Linked DNA regions of Homo sapiens: all the other regions are linked to region 1. Evidence: promoter capture Hi-C in 16 types of primary human blood cells and fetal thymus (Javierre and others, 2016). All regions are on one chromosome and are shown on one strand. Each heading gives the region's core, a stretch centred on a gene start or on the middle of the fragment in contact. The rest is flanking DNA. Distances are from core to core; before and after follow the strand shown.

Region 1 (4,950 bases), core at 1,300-3,799:
ATATGAATCTTGTATTAAGAAGAGAGGGCCACAGACATAAATTTGGGAGTCACTGGCCAATACAGCCAAAAGATAAGTTCACCAAGGAAGTGAATGTAGAGAAAAAAACTAAATTTTGTGTCACTCCCAACAACGGGAGGTCAAGAAATGAAACCATCAAGTAAATTGCAGAAGAATGATCAGTAAGGGCTGGGCACTGTGGTTCATGCCTGTAATCCCAGCACTTTGGGAGGCCTAGCCGGGAGGATCGCTTGAGCCCAGGAGTTTGAGATCAGCCCTGGCAACAGAACAAGACCTCATCTCTCCAAAATATCAGCCAGTCATGGTGGTGTGCATCTGTAGTCCCAGCTACTCAGAAGTCTGAGGCAGGAGGATCGCTTAAGCCTGGGAGGTCCAGGCTGCAATGAGCTCTGAGGGGTGACAGAGTGAGACCCTGTCTCAAAAAATAAATAAATAAATAAAAAATAAAAAAAGGATGACTAGTAAGATGGAGAGCAGCAAAACCGAAAGTATGGTGTCCTGGAGCCAAATTAATAAAGCATATCAAGGTTTCTGGCTTACACTACTGGAAGCATGGAGGTACCCATCACCAAGATAGGGAAATCCTGGAAGAATATCACGTTTGTGAAGGTAAAGATAACGAGTTTGGCCCAGATATGCTGAGGTACATAATCAACACTGAGTAAATTAAGGAACAGTAAGCTGTAATTTTAAAAGCCTGAGTCTGGTCTCTAATTCTTTGTTTGCTCTGTGACGTAAGTTGTCATTATCATCCTGAGGCTCAATTTTCTTTCCTATGACATGGAGGTAATATTTATACGAGTAACCACAAATGGTTGCTGTGTAGATCAAATATGGTAATTTAAGAAAAAAAACTTCAAACCCCTATGAAGATATAAGAAAAAGTCACAGAATACAGAAAGTTGTAGGAATTCTAAGAAACAAAAGTTATATTTAATCCTTATAAGGAAAAAAAGAAGAGAGAAAACTAAATCAGGCCTATAAGGAACCATTCACCCTGTACCTTTAGCTGAGTCCTGTGGAATTCCTGCTTTATTTCAAAGGTAACAAACCCTTCTTGTTTTTAATCTTTTCCTTAAACACCTCTTCAACTTTCTAACCCAACTGAAACTCGGCTTATCTCTGAAGACACCACTTACCTTGACACCAGTCATAATGACATATCATCCTCCAAACATGCCTTAAATGTTAAGATTTCCATATTTTTGCTCATATGTTATTTCTTTACCTGGAATTTCCTTTCCCCATTTCATTCTCTATCCAAATTCTAACTATCCACAAGGAACTGCAAGGCCATCAGCATCATGAAGGCTACCATGGTTCCTCACAACTGAATGAAGCCTCTTCTTCTTTTTTTTTTAAAGACAAGTCTCACTATTGCCCAGGAGGCAGTGTAGTGACACCATCGTGGCCCACTGTAGCCTCAATCTCCTGGGCTCAAGGGATCCTCATGCCTCAGTCTCCCAAATAGCTGGGACTATAGGTGTGTACCACCATACCCAGCTAATTTTTTCTGTAGGGACGAGGTCTCCCTATGTTGCCCAGGCTGGTGTCAAACCCCTAAGTTCAGTCCTGCCTCAGCCTTCCAAAGTGCTGGGATTAACAGGAGTAAGCCACTGCGCCAGATTGAACCTCTTCTTTAGAACCACCACAGCACATAACATGTATCTGCTACGCCCCTCACTTCCCTCTAGTTGGTATTACACATTTTGCATAAAAGTCTTCTATTTCTAAATAGGCTTCAAGTCAGGTTCATCTTTGTATCAGCTGGTGCTCTTAAAATATTTATTGTGAACATGGACTTAATGAGCTTGACGTGTTGAAATTATTTCTAATGTGTTGCCATACTCACATTTTTTACTCTGTTTTTCCACTTCTGCCTTCAGTCTCTTGTACTTGTCTGTCCTGTAAACCAGGACCCAGGTTATGCCTAAAACATTAAAAGCAACATGTTAATAGAGAAATGACTGGAATGATCACAACAAACAAAGTGGTTACTGTTGGAGAAGGAGGAATTCCAACTTTTCGCTTTGTATTTACCCATAGTTAACTTTTTTCAAAGGCTAATACAACTGACTCTTCAGCCAAAACAACAGTAACATGATGTGAAGGTGTCTCCACAAATACCCAAGTGAAATCTACCTGAGACCAAAGAAAACTCGGCAATCGACTCCATACTCCCCTCCTGCTCCTGTTCACGAGTTGCCCAGAGATTCCCTGAAGTGGAGTAGATGAGCCTCTCAAGCAAGTAAGGCTCGCGATCTTTCCCCTGGTGGCACAGGGGACCCCGGGGCCCTTCCTCCCGGGGACTGATCAAACGTCTGAGAAATACCCGCTCTCACCCTCTGCGAGCAGAGCCGTGCACACAGAGATAAAAACGATGAGGAGAGTGTCCGCGAACATAGTGCTCATCTCGCACCTTCGTCTCTGCACTCTCACCCGCCAGGGGGAAAGCGCTCTACAGCCAGGAAAAGTGAAGCGAAAACGGCTTCCGTAGACTCCGCCACCACCGAGTAACAGACCAACTCTGACAGCCCGAAGATCGCACTTCCGCTTCCGGGGCATAGCACCGGAAAGGCTCGTATCGGAGAACGGTGTGGCCACGAGAGTCTAGAGGAAACCAACCCGCAACTCACTGGAGCTGAAGGGCTGGTAGTCAGGCCGAATCTCGCGAGAATTGGAACTATTTCAGAGCCAGAGGAGGATAGTGGCGGCGGCGAACTTTGCCCGGTAGATTTTACTGACTGGGGTGCTGGCGCGCGCCTTTTTCTCGGCCAGAATCCAGTTATTGGGATAGTCTTGACTTCTACCTCAGCCCAACTTCTGTGGTCGTAATATTAGTTTAGCTTGGGTTTGCCGTGAAGTAAGAAGACTGACTTCCGCAAAGGTACTGAACGACTGGGTGTAGGTGCCAGGGCATGGACGTGAAGCTGGAACCGCGAAATGAGTTAGTTGTGGGCCGCTGGCCTCAAGGAGCGAACGTCAGCGCGAAGAGGAGAAGCTTGTGCATACGCTCTGATAAGGGTTTTAATAGAGGTATTACCACAGTGCTGCGTGACACGGTTGAGAGAGTGGTCAGAAGAAGCTAATGAAAGGAATTGAAGCAGTGCCTTAGGGGAGTAGGAGTACTTTTGGAGATAGCAAAGGACTTTCTAGGCAAAGTGGAAGTCAAAGCACGGATGCCTGAAAATTCATAGTGTGATAGTGCAGTGAGTAATGTATCTAGAGAAGGGGTCTTAAACCCAGATGCCTAGACTGGCGAGAGAAAATAAATTATCTTATGCAAGCTGAGCCTAAACAAATGGTGGAAGTTACTACGATGGATAAGTGAGCATTAAGTTCATCTGAAAGGAGAATTTGATACCCAAATCCAACCCATTTCTCTAGGAGAATGAGCACCCAGTTTCTGAGATGTCTTCGTTTCTCAGGAAAATCCAGAAATCCTGGGTTTTATGTGAAACTTAATTTATAAGTGTTGCTAACTAATTAAAATTCAAAAATGTCTCAGCAGCGTGGTTTCAGCCATTGTAGACGGTTTCAGCTTTTTCACACTGGGGTGTGTGTGTGTATGGGTGAAAACCTGGAAGCTGGCTGAGCTGTATCCTCTTGTACTTCCTCCTATCATTGGTGTTTTTTTGTTTGTTTGAGATGGAGTTTCACTCTTGTTGCCCAGGTGGAGTGCAATGGCACAATCTCGGCTCACTGCAACCTCTGCCTCCGGGTTCAAGCCATTCTCCTGCCTCAGCCTCCCAAGTAGCTGGGACTACAGGTGCCCGTCCCCACGCCCAGCTAATTTTTTGTATTTTTAGTAGAGACGGGGTTTTGCCATGTTGGCCAGGCTGGTCTTGAACTCCTGACCTCAGATCCACCCACTTCGGCCTCCCAAAGTGCTGGGAATACAGGCGTGAGCCACCGTGGCCGGCCCTCATTGGTTCTTTTAAACTGTACTGCACTTAAATATATAATTCTCCTAAACACTACTTTTGACTTTTTTTTAGCTTTATGTGCATTTCTTGTCTCCCAGACTTAGCAACAGAGACCCTGTCTCCTTTTTAAGAAACATTATTGAGCTTCTACTATATGTCAAGAACTGTGGTAGGCACTGTAGGGTCAAAAGGATGGTTAAGAGAATATTCCTGACTTCTAAGGGCCCAGGGAGATTATATAATATAATAAGATTATAGGTATTATAGAGGTATTCTTAAAATGTTGAGGGGGTACAGATGAAAACAAGATGTATTCTTCCTGGGGAGTTGGAAAGGTTTCAGAAAGATCATATTTGAGCTAGACCTTTATTTGAGCAGTTCAGACAAGGATAGGTTTTTATTCACCTTTGTATCACCCAAGGTAAGTGCTGAGATAACAATAAGAGCATGATCTTGGAAATCAGACCTGATTTTAAATTCTTGCTCTGCCACTTACTTGACAGCAGTCCTAGAACCTATTGTTTAGCATCTTTGAGCCTTCAAAATGGTGGTAACATCAGCTATGAAGACTGGATGAGGAAAAGTATATTATAAAGCATTTCAAGCAGTGCTTGGCACACACAATTCATCAAATTCAACATGCTATTCATTGTAAGACGCATCATTATTTTATCTACTACTAAAGAGGAAAAAATAACTAATTAAACCATGACACACCATTGATTGTAAGAAGAATCCCATTCAGAGATGTTAAAATATGAAAAAATGAGAAAATATGAAATATATTAATAAGCAGTTAAGTTATTCCTGTGTAAATGTTTACAACCATGGACTGCTAGGATACACTTCCTTTTCTAGGGTAATGATGTCATGACACTATGCCCCTTGTTTAAGAACAGTGCTAGAAGTCAGGCGCGGTGGCTCACGCCTGCAATCCCAGCACTTTGGGAGGCTGAGGCGGGCGGATCACGAGGTCAGGAGATTGAGACCATCCTGGTTAACA
Region 2 (4,950 bases), core at 823-3,322, 4.0 Mb after region 1:
ATATTTTACAAAAAGTTTTTCACTACTTAGTACAAGCTTACAAAACTCAGACCACTCACCAGAAAAAAATCGGCATTTATATAGTTGTGTTACTTTTGGTTTCCTGCATCTTTTCACATCTGGCTCATTTACATCATTTTCTTCATCTTCCAAAGTGGAGTTAGCTACTACATTAGGTAAGGTTACTTCATCAATCACCATACTGTTATAATCTTGAAAGTGAATTTCTTTGGACCCTCCCTTGAATGCAGTTATACCTAGTAAACCTGATCCACAACCAAGATCCAAGACTTTTTTCCCAGCAAATTTCACTTTGGCCTTTGTGAAATAAGCCAGGAGGTCAAAGGTACATTCCCAGATTTTTAAGCCTCCCTCATAAACACCTGTAATCAGATCAGAGTGAGAAGAAAAGCTTTTTGAAACTATGTTTTCTCCAGGGAAGTTCTCTTTCAACAAGATGGTTTTCACTACTGATAACTTAACATGCTGGAAACCTGGTAATGTTTCTATGACTTTATTTTCTAACATCTTCTTTAAATCTTTAGGCATAGCATGCTCTTTGGCAGCTCTCAAGGAGGGCTGTTTTCCATGTGGCTCCAAGTTCCTTGAACTGCTGGCTGCACTGAGTGGACTGTCTGTGTCTTGAGAGGGAGCTGCATTTTCCATTGACTTATGTTCCCACAAGTGATCCTGAGGCAAGTCAAATTGTTCTGCAGAACATTTTCTGTCCCTCTCTTCTCCTTTTTGACTTTCTGAGACTGACAGCTCTTTTGAGGAATCCAGGGTCAAAGCTCCATCTCTAATGGGTGTTAATTCATTTTCCAGATGGTCTTCTATAGTGAAATTAAACTGAAAGGTCATCCTCTTATTAAATGCACACAATCTTTAAATTCAGATTCTTCAACTTCTGGATAGAATTTGATGATACACACAAATCTGCCTCAATTATTCAATTAGTTTTGTTGGGCCCAATTTCTCTTTAGCAGCTTATACATGGTAACAAATATTTAGAGATATTTCCAAATGACTTTTTAGACGTCTTTGGTCCTCTTTCCAAGCAGCTCTGGAAAGAAAAAAAAAAAAAAAAGAAAGAAAATGATGATTAAAGCAAAATGGCACATTTCACTAAAGTGTAATATTAAACAGCCACCCCCACCCCTCCCTGTCCCACCATACAGCTGCTTTTTCTTAAAAAGTTGTGGGGAAGAGAGAGAGATAAGAGATTTGGACACTCATACACACCTTAAGGGTTCCAAAGTGGGAGAAGAAAATCAACTATAAAAACAAACAGAAGAACAACAGCAACCACCACCACTACCACCTGGACAAACATAAAGTCCAAGATATTCAGACAGGACAGCCTAGCTACTTGCTGTCTTTCAGCTGTCTTGATTTGTGTCCAACCATATTCACCCCCTAAGCTTCCAGAATAACTTCACTTCTGTCTTTTACAGAAGAGGTGCAGTATTTTATTTTGGTAAGTCAGCGTCCCTTTAAAAACATGCATAGGTATGGCCTGGTGTGTGTAAATTCATCCAAGACTTCACTCCAAACATTTAGTCGAGAACAGCAGCCCTAAGTGTATAGAAGTGGGGGTAATTTGGCAATAATTAGTAAAGACTAATTCGGTGGCAGAGCAAACGCAAACTAGGGCACTGCAGTAGTTTGGAGAGACCTGTAGAAATAAGAAGCAACTTTATTGAGAATCTTCTATCTACTGCGCTAGACACTATACCATCTGCCTCAATTTTCACAGTTCTGGCAAGTGGGATCTTTGTTCCCTTTATACAAGATTTACAATTTGGGGGAGAGGCGGGTCACCCAGTCCCGCGGCTAGGAACGCGCCTCTTTCCTCTCCCATCACGCTGCAAGGCTTGGAGTCACTTCCGGCTGCAGGTCCCGGAACAAATCCGACCCCAGAAGTGGGGACTTCTGGCCCTCACCTCCCCATTTGAATGTAATGTTTACAGTGATCCAGACCTGGGGATGCTTGCTTCCCGACGTGTCCTGGGATCGCGCTTCTGAAAAAGCTCACCTCACAACGCCTCCTCCGGACCTAAATCGCGCACCAGTGAGTCGAGTCCTCCAGGGGCTAGAGAAGCCCGACTTTCTTTCCGGCCTTGAGGGACCCGGGCTCACCAAGAAACCAGCCGCCCTCCTCTCTATGGTTTTGGAGCCGGCGGAGAGCGCGCAAGGGTTGGCGGGACTGCGAGTTTCCGGTCTGGGCTTTGGCGGGTCTGGTTTGAAGCTCTCCTGTTTGACGAAAGTATGTCTCAGGAAGGTGCGGTCCCAGCTAGCGCGGTTCCCCTGGAAGAATTAAGTAGCTGGCCAGAGGAGCTATGCCGCCGGGAACTGCCGTCCGTCCTGCCCCGACTCCTCATATCCTTCCTTGGTTGTCACTTCTACCTAGAGAAGGGTGTGGGCGGGTCGCGAACCTTTCTCTTCTGTCCCTTCAGACCCACCGCCAGGCTGGGTTATATTACCGCGGCCTGAACCCCCTCTTTTCTTTGTCAGTGAGTGGGATGAAAAGTGAGGGACTGGAGGGGAAGCGACAACCGTGGTAGATTTAAGTAAGGCTTTGGCCCTGGAAAGCCTCGCGGACGTGTTCTGACCCAAGGTTTTAGCAGTGGATGTGGCGTTTTCTTCCATTCCTTCTTTCAGTTTTTCTGTACTCGTTGCTTGCAATTAAGTGTAAATACTTTTGCTAGTGGATAATGGGGGAGGCAAGGACTGAGACCTGCGGTATGACGATAGCTCTGGCTCTTAATAGTTTGAGGTAAAGCGAGATACTCTGAGCTTTTGTCTCCCGTAAAAAGGGTGGTGAATATGAATAAGGGCTTTCTTAGCGTTATAAGAATTAAAGGGCATAGTTCTGTGGTGTGAAATCTTTAAAAGATGTTCAGTAAATAAAAATGATTTTCCTCCTTCCCCTCTCAGACCTCTTTTTCTTCTTTCTTTCTTTTTTTTTGACAAGTTCTCACTCCTCTCACCCAGGCTGGAGTCTTTCTGAAAGAGTTCTTCCGCTTGTTGTTGGCTTTCAACTGTTGGATTTGAGGCGCTTAGCGCCTTCTTCGTCCGGGTGCAGCACATTCTTGATTGGTCTCATGCCTTTGTGGTTGTAAATGTGCCTGGAATCCTAGCCTTTCATGGTAAACCATATGTATATGTATCTTTTTCACAACATTTGAGCCCAGCTTTATACAATTACACTCAAAAGAAAAAAAGTAACCTTCACTTGAGAGAATCTCAATACTGCACAAATATTGTGCAGCTAAAGCCCTATGTAATCACATAGAAGTCATTCACCTAGGCATTAGCAAAATCTCAGAAGGTGCCAAAGCCCCCTTTTTTAGTTTTTGTGTAGGTACAGAACTGCCGTCTTCAAGGAGTTTCAACTTGAAAACAAATAGCCACCCTCAAAACATTCAAAAACACTTAAACTGCGTGCATAATGTGTGTGAGACATGGTGTTAGGCTTTGGGAGAACAGAGACACGGAACGTGATTCCTCTTCTTCCCCACAAGCTTATAGAGAGACTTCATTAAGTTGAAAGTCAACATTCCCACCTAGCTTTGCACTTCAAACGACATATTCAAAAAAGCCCAAACTTCCTCTAGTTTTCTTCATCTGAGTAAATGGTTTCACAAACTGAAACCTTGAATCCTCTCTGTCTCACACACCCGATCAGTAAGTTCTATTGTTTCTGATTCCAAACTATGTCTTGAATCAATCCGTTTATCTCCATCCTCATTGCTACCACTCTGATTCCAAACCCTTATCACCTCTCACTTGGAGTATTAATAGTTTCCTTGTTTCTACTCATAATTCATTATTCCAAAAAAGTTAAGAGGGGAAAAACATAGATCTCGTCATTTCCCTTTTTAAACCACTTTACCTTCAAGGTTCCAGGTGATCTAAGCCTTGCCCTTCTCTCATACCTAGTTAATTAACTACACTCTGTTCATGAATACATTAGGCTCACCTACCTCAAGATCTTTTTGCTCAGCCTGATTTGTTCTCTCAGCCTTTTGCATATTTCATGTTTATGTCTTGGCCCAAATGTCACTTCCTTAGAGGGGCTTTTTCAGAGCCTTCAATCTTAGGCAGTTCCCCCAAACGCAGTCTTACACTTGTATCACATTGGCCTGTTCAGTTTTCTAAAAAGCACATTACCATTAAAAGAAATGCTCTTGTTTGCTTTGTATATTTTCCACTTCTACACATTATGTTGCAAAGTTCATAAAGGCAGGATGTTGATTTTCTTCACAGCGTTACCCTCAGCACCTAGAACAGTGCCTGACACATAGTAAGCATTCATTAAAGGGCTAAAAATATTTCATGTTTTAAAAATACTTGGGAGTCTAATTAGACAATACTTTTTTTCAGCTTAATGGTAGTATTTTAGCTTCACTATTTTAACAAATGAAAAATTTGCAATAAATCTACAATGCCATTACCCCCCAAAATCTTTTTCATGTTTTGCATTTTACGTATTATTTTCCAGGCCTTACCTGCATGTCTGCATAATCATAACTGACTAATTTTGGAACAGCTGGTAATTATTTGAGCTTTACTGAAATTTTTTCATGAGGCCAATTCTACCCTACTGAACTCAAATTTGAGTTAATGATGACCTCATTTTGATTGCTGCTGTAAAAAATAAGATTTCGGAAGAGGAATGAATTCTTGTATTACTGTGGTAGGACTATGGGTTTTTTTTTGTTTGTTTGTTTGTTTTGAGACGGAGTCTCACCCTGTCACCCAGGCTGGAGTGCAGTGGTGCGATCTCAGCTCACAGCAGCCAGGTTCAAGTGATTCTCCTTCCTCAGCCTCCCGAGTAGCTGAGATTACAGGCACGTGCCACCATGCCCGGCTAATTTTTTGTATCTTTAGTAGAGATGGTTTCACCATGTTGGCCAGGCTGGTCTCGAACTCCTGACCTCGTGATCC
Region 3 (4,950 bases), core at 1,449-3,948, 3.3 Mb before region 1:
GGGTGCAGTGGCTCATGCCTGTAATCCTAACACTTTGGGAGGCCAAGGTAGGAGGATTACCTGAGGTCAGGAGTTCGAGGCCAGCCTGACCAACATGGCAAAACCCCGTCTCTACTAAAAATACAAAATTTAACCGGGCATGGTGGCGCATGCCTATAATCCCAGCTACTCGGGAGGCTGAGGTGGGAGAATTCCTTGAACCCAGGAGGCAGAGGTTGCAGTGAGCTGAGATCACGCCACTGCACTCCAGCCTGGGTGATAGAGTGAGACTTTGTCTCAAACAAACAAACCAACCAACCAACCTATCTTGTTACTGGAAAGTGGTCTCAATCCAGACCCCAGGAGAGGGTTCTTGGACCTCACGCAAGAAAGAATTCAGAATGAGTCCATAAAGCAAGTTTATTAGGAAGTAAAAGGGATAAAAGAATGGCTACTCCATAGGCAGAGCAACAGCTTAGGCTGCTCGACTTATAGTTATTCATATTTATAGTTATTTCTTGATTATATGCTAAACAAGGGGTGGATTATTCATGAGTTTTCCAGGAAAGGAGTGGGCAATTCCTGGAACTGAGGGTTCCTCCTCTTTTTAGACCATGTAGGGTAACTTCCAGGACGTTGCCATACCATTTGTAAATTGTAATGGTGCTGGTAAGAGTTTCCTTTAGCATGCTAATGTATTATAATTAGCATCTAATGAGTAGTAAGGACGACCAGAGGTCACCTTCACCACCATTTTGGTTTTGGTGGGTTTTGGCTGGCTTCTTTACTGCAATCTGTTTTATCAGCAAGGTCTTTGTGACCTGTATCTTGTGTTGACCTCCTATCTCATCCTGTGACTTAGAATACCTAACTTCCTGGAAATGCAGCCCAGTAGATCTGAGCCTTATTTTACCCAGCTCCTATTCAAGATGGAGTTGCTCTGGTTTGAACACCTCTGACAATCTGATGAGATTTTATGGTTTGTAGGCTGTGACTCCTCACATCCCTTAGATAAGAATTTGGGGCCAGGTGCAGTGGCTCACGCTTGTAATCCCAGCACTTTGGGAAGGTGAGGCAGGCGGATCACAAGGGCAGGAGTTCGAGACCAGCCTGACCAACATGGAGAAACTTCATCTCTACTAAAAATACAAAATTAGCTGGCATGGTGGCAAATTCCTGTAATTCCAGCTACTTGGGAGGCTGAGGCAGGAGAATCGCTGGACCCCAGGAGGAGGAGGTTGCGGTGGGCGGAGATGCCGAGATCATGCCATTGCACCCCAGCCTGGGCAACAAGAGCGAAACTCCGTCTTACCAAAAAAAAAAAAAAAAAAAAAAAAAATTGAGCAAGAGAGAAGACAGGTCAGAGTTTAGTCCTCAACCTCTCCTCAAACTTTCCACTTAGCACTACATGAACCATCTCATCTGGCTGGGAACTTACACAAAACCTGAAGAAAAGAAGATAGGGCCTATTGTCTGATACTAAGTTTTTGCCACACAATCAGAATAGATCTTGAAATAGAAAAGGTTGAATGACTGAAAAGTAAAGAAGGCTACATTTCTTACACACTCGAGTTTGTGGATTGAGATGCCTATTTGCTACATTTGTTACTCAATAAACGTTTGCTGAATGAATAAAATAATTGAATAAATAAATGAAAAATAAAAATTTGGAACAGATCCGTGTTTGCCCAGGGTGAATGCTTTTTGATGAGGGAGCCATAGGCAAGGTGGACTATGTTGATAAAAAGAGTTAAACTCTGTAAAATATTTGAAGAGATTTATTCTGAGCCAACTATGAGTGACCATGGTCTGTGACACAGCCCTCAGGAGATCCTGAGAACATGTACCCAAGGTGGTTGGGGTGCAGCTTGGTTTTATACATTTTGGGAGACATGAGACTTCAATCAAATATATTTAAGAAATACATTGATTTGGCCCAGAAAGGTGGGAAAACTCGAAGCGGGAATTGGTGGGGGGAGAAATGGGTCCTTCCAGGTTATAGGTAGATTTAAAATTTTTCTAATTGGCAATTGGTTGAAAGAGTTATCAATAGAAAGGAATGTCTGGGTTGTCATAAGAACTTGTGGAGACCAAAGTTTTGTCATGCAGATGAAGCCTCCAGGTACCAGGCTTCCAAGAAAATAGATTGTAAATGTTTCTTACCAGACCGAAGGTCTGTGTTGACCTTAACCGGAGAGGTATGAGGCTAGTCGGACCCCCACTTCCCGTCATGGACTGAACCAGAATTTTAGAGTGCCCTGGCCTGGGAGAAAGTCCATTCCGATGGTTGGCGACACGGGGGGCTTAGAATTGTATTTTCGGTTTACATCTAAAAGAAGAACAAAGGTCTAGGCTTCCAGAATCATGGGTTCTGGTGACCGTGGACCTGGAGGTGATGGTAAACTCTCTTTTTGTTCCTGGGGTGTTTTCCTTGGGATCCTTTCTATGAGAAATGTAGGCCGGGTTTTATTTTTCGGGTTCCTAGTGGTGAGGTAAGGTGAGGTGCCTCAACAAGAAAAAGGACCAGTTTTGGCTTCAGGTCTATGTGAAAGCGGTTAACACTGGGCCTGGAATGGTAGATACTCAATAATTAAGGTTACTTCTTATTCTCGGTTCTTTTTTCCAAACCTAGCGCGTCTAATCTCTTCTAGGCCCCGCCCCTTCTGAGCCCCCCCTCCTTCGGCCTGTATGATAGGCTCTTCCTCCATTTCCGGCTTCTGGGACTCGGGTGCACCACGGCTTCCGGTGTCATGGCTGCTTGAAGTCCCGGGAGTCGGTGAGGCGGCTGCAGGTCCCTCCCTGCGGAGCCGCTGGTCCGGCTGGCGGAGATGTGACCGCGGGCCCGGCCGGCCTGCCTCAGGCGTCGCGTCAGCTCCCGTGTCCGTGCCCTTAACCCACACCGATGGCGGGATCCGGCTGCGCCTGGGGCGCGGAGCCGCCGCGTTTTCTGGAGGCCTTCGGGCGGCTGTGGCAGGTACAGAGCCGTCTGGGTAGCGGCTCCTCCGCCTCGGTGTATCGGGTTCGCTGCTGCGGCAACCCTGGCTCGCCCCCCGGCGCCCTCAAGCAGTTCTTGCCGCCAGGAACCACCGGGGCTGCGGCCTCTGCCGCCGAGTATGGTTTCCGCAAAGAGAGGGCGGCGCTGGAACAGTTGCAGGGTCACAGAAACATCGGTAATTGCCGCTGTCTCCTTTCTCTTCTTGCCCAGGTCACAGTCCGAGCACACTCTTCCTCTCGCTGTCTGGCGTTCCATCTTCCTCCCCTTCTGCGGGAGAAGCGGGTTTAGCCCTCTTTATCACCCCATCCAGGCCCCTTTCCCCTTTCACTTTATTACTGTCTGCGGTATAGTGGAGTTGGTGGTCTGCTTTGCCAGGTGTCACATAGATGCTCAGTAAATTGTCTTGCTTCGAGTCTCATCGGAGAATGCCGCATTCATTAGCATACAGAAATATCTTTTCTAGTGAGAGGAGGCATGTCTTTGCTAGATTGTCGTGTCTTGTGTGGAAATTTTTGAATCTTTGCATACCAGTAGAAAATGGGAACTACGTCTGGGCCTTGTGACATCAATGCTAGTAACTCGTATAGCTCACCTATTATATCTTTAGTACGGATTTGGAAGAAATGATGCACTATTCCATGGGAGCCTTTATAGAAGTGTGAAATTTAGGAACACTATACCTTTGCTCTCTTGAGACTGTTTCAAGAATCAGATACTCAGAATGTAAGATATGTAATGATCACTGATGATTGATCTGTGAAAAGGTTTCATTTTCATTACACGACAGAAAGCTTATCATTAGTTATAGCTTTGGTTATTAAAGAAAAGTCTTATTTCCTAGCAAGTATGATGCATAGTTAATTTGAAGAGTGAGTTTTTTTATAATATCATTTTGGAGAAGAATTAACACTAGTGCTACATTTTTTTAGTTTACTAAATGGTCTGTTACTATAACCTTGGTATTGAAAAGGGAAAAATTTTGCAAGCCTAGGGACTTGCCTGATCTCTGCAAGATTAAAATTTCATCCGAAAAGTCTTAATCTCTTTGTTAGTATTTAGATTATAGAGAGCTGTTTATTTTTGTTTTAGTTTTTTTTTTTGAGACAAGTTCTTACTCTGTCACCCAGGCTGGAGTACAATGGCGAGATCACAGTTCACTCCAGCCTCCAATTCCTCCTAAAGCCATGCTCCTACCTCAGCCTCCCAGGTAGCTGGGACTACAGGCACGTAGCACCAAGCCTGGCTAATTTTTTGTAGAGAAGAGGTCCCCTTTTGTTACCCAGGCTGGTCTCCAAACTCCTGGGCTCAAGCAGTCCTCCTGCCTCGGTCTCTCAGAATGCTGGGATCACGGGCATGAGCCACCGTGGCAGACCTAGACTGCTGTTTTGGATGAAGAAGCAATGTTTAGTTTGGTTTTTGCGCATTGTGACATTCCTTTTAAAAGAGTTACTTAATATTTGGGTTTTTACTTTTAAAAATTTCTTTTTTTTTAAAGGACCTCATGATGCAACAGTAAGTTTTATTTATTTATATTTAGGTTTTTTACTTTTAATCATTTTTGCTTGGCACTCCAAGTTCGTGTTCATCACCAATGAGTACTTGGTGAAACACAAATTGAATAATTGTACCATATTTAGTATCTGTGAATGGTAATCAGCTGTTGTAGGCTGTCTCATCTTATTTTTATTAAAATAACCCAATTGCCAAAAGATCTTATTCATGGGAAAAATAAATTACAGTGGAAGCTTGCTCATCAAAGTTATCCTTATCTAGACTATCTCAAATTTGTACTGCAGTTACCTACTTTAGTAGTGACTTACTCTGAGTCTGATTTTTAAAGTATTATAATTTCTTTTTCTAGTGACTTTGTATGGAGTGTTTACAATCCACTTTTCTCCAAATGTGCCATCACGCTGTCTGTTGCTTGAACTCCTGGATGTCAGTGTTTCGGAATTGCTCTTATATTCCAGTCACCA

The links. Contacts are between HindIII fragments. The CHiCAGO score rates a contact against its expected background, and 5 or more counts as called.
Region 2: the fragment with the promoter of METTL18 here is called in contact with the fragment with the promoter of TMCO1 in region 1 in 2 of 17 cell types (activated CD4 T cells and fetal thymus); the score reaches 8.7 in activated CD4 T cells.
Region 3: the fragment with the promoter of UHMK1 here is called in contact with the fragment with the promoter of TMCO1 in region 1 in 1 of 17 cell types (total CD4 T cells); the score reaches 5.4 in total CD4 T cells.

Annotation. Positions count from the first base shown.
Region 1 is chr1:165,766,319-165,771,268 of GRCh38, forward strand. TMCO1 (transmembrane and coiled-coil domains 1) reads right to left here and starts at 2,550. Exons shown (of 7, transcript NM_019026.6): 1 at 2,364-2,550; 2 at 1,874-1,951. The coding sequence starts at 2,433. TMCO1-AS1 (TMCO1 antisense RNA 1) reads left to right here and starts at 2,611. Exons shown (of 3, transcript NR_125374.1): 1 at 2,611-3,057. RefSeq lists enhancers at 2,161-2,837, 2,838-3,513. The HindIII fragment of the contact is 3,297 bases long and covers 1-3,020 here.
Region 2 is chr1:169,792,835-169,797,784 of GRCh38, forward strand. METTL18 (methyltransferase 18, RPL3 N3(tau)-histidine) reads right to left here and starts at 2,073. Exons shown (of 2, transcript NM_033418.4): 1 at 1,981-2,073; 2 at 1-1,063. The coding sequence starts at 861. FIRRM (FIGNL1 interacting regulator of recombination and mitosis) reads left to right here and starts at 2,206. Exons shown (of 25, transcript NM_001320047.2): 1 at 2,206-2,281; 2 at 2,995-3,149. RefSeq lists an enhancer at 1,806-2,125. The HindIII fragment of the contact is 2,103 bases long and covers 1,420-3,522 here.
Region 3 is chr1:162,495,120-162,500,069 of GRCh38, forward strand. UHMK1 (U2AF homology motif kinase 1) reads left to right here and starts at 2,699. Exons shown (of 8, transcript NM_175866.5): 1 at 2,699-3,149; 2 at 4,836-4,950. The coding sequence starts at 2,882. RefSeq lists enhancers at 2,435-2,935, 2,670-2,749, 2,936-3,436. The HindIII fragment of the contact is 6,861 bases long and covers 1-3,763 here.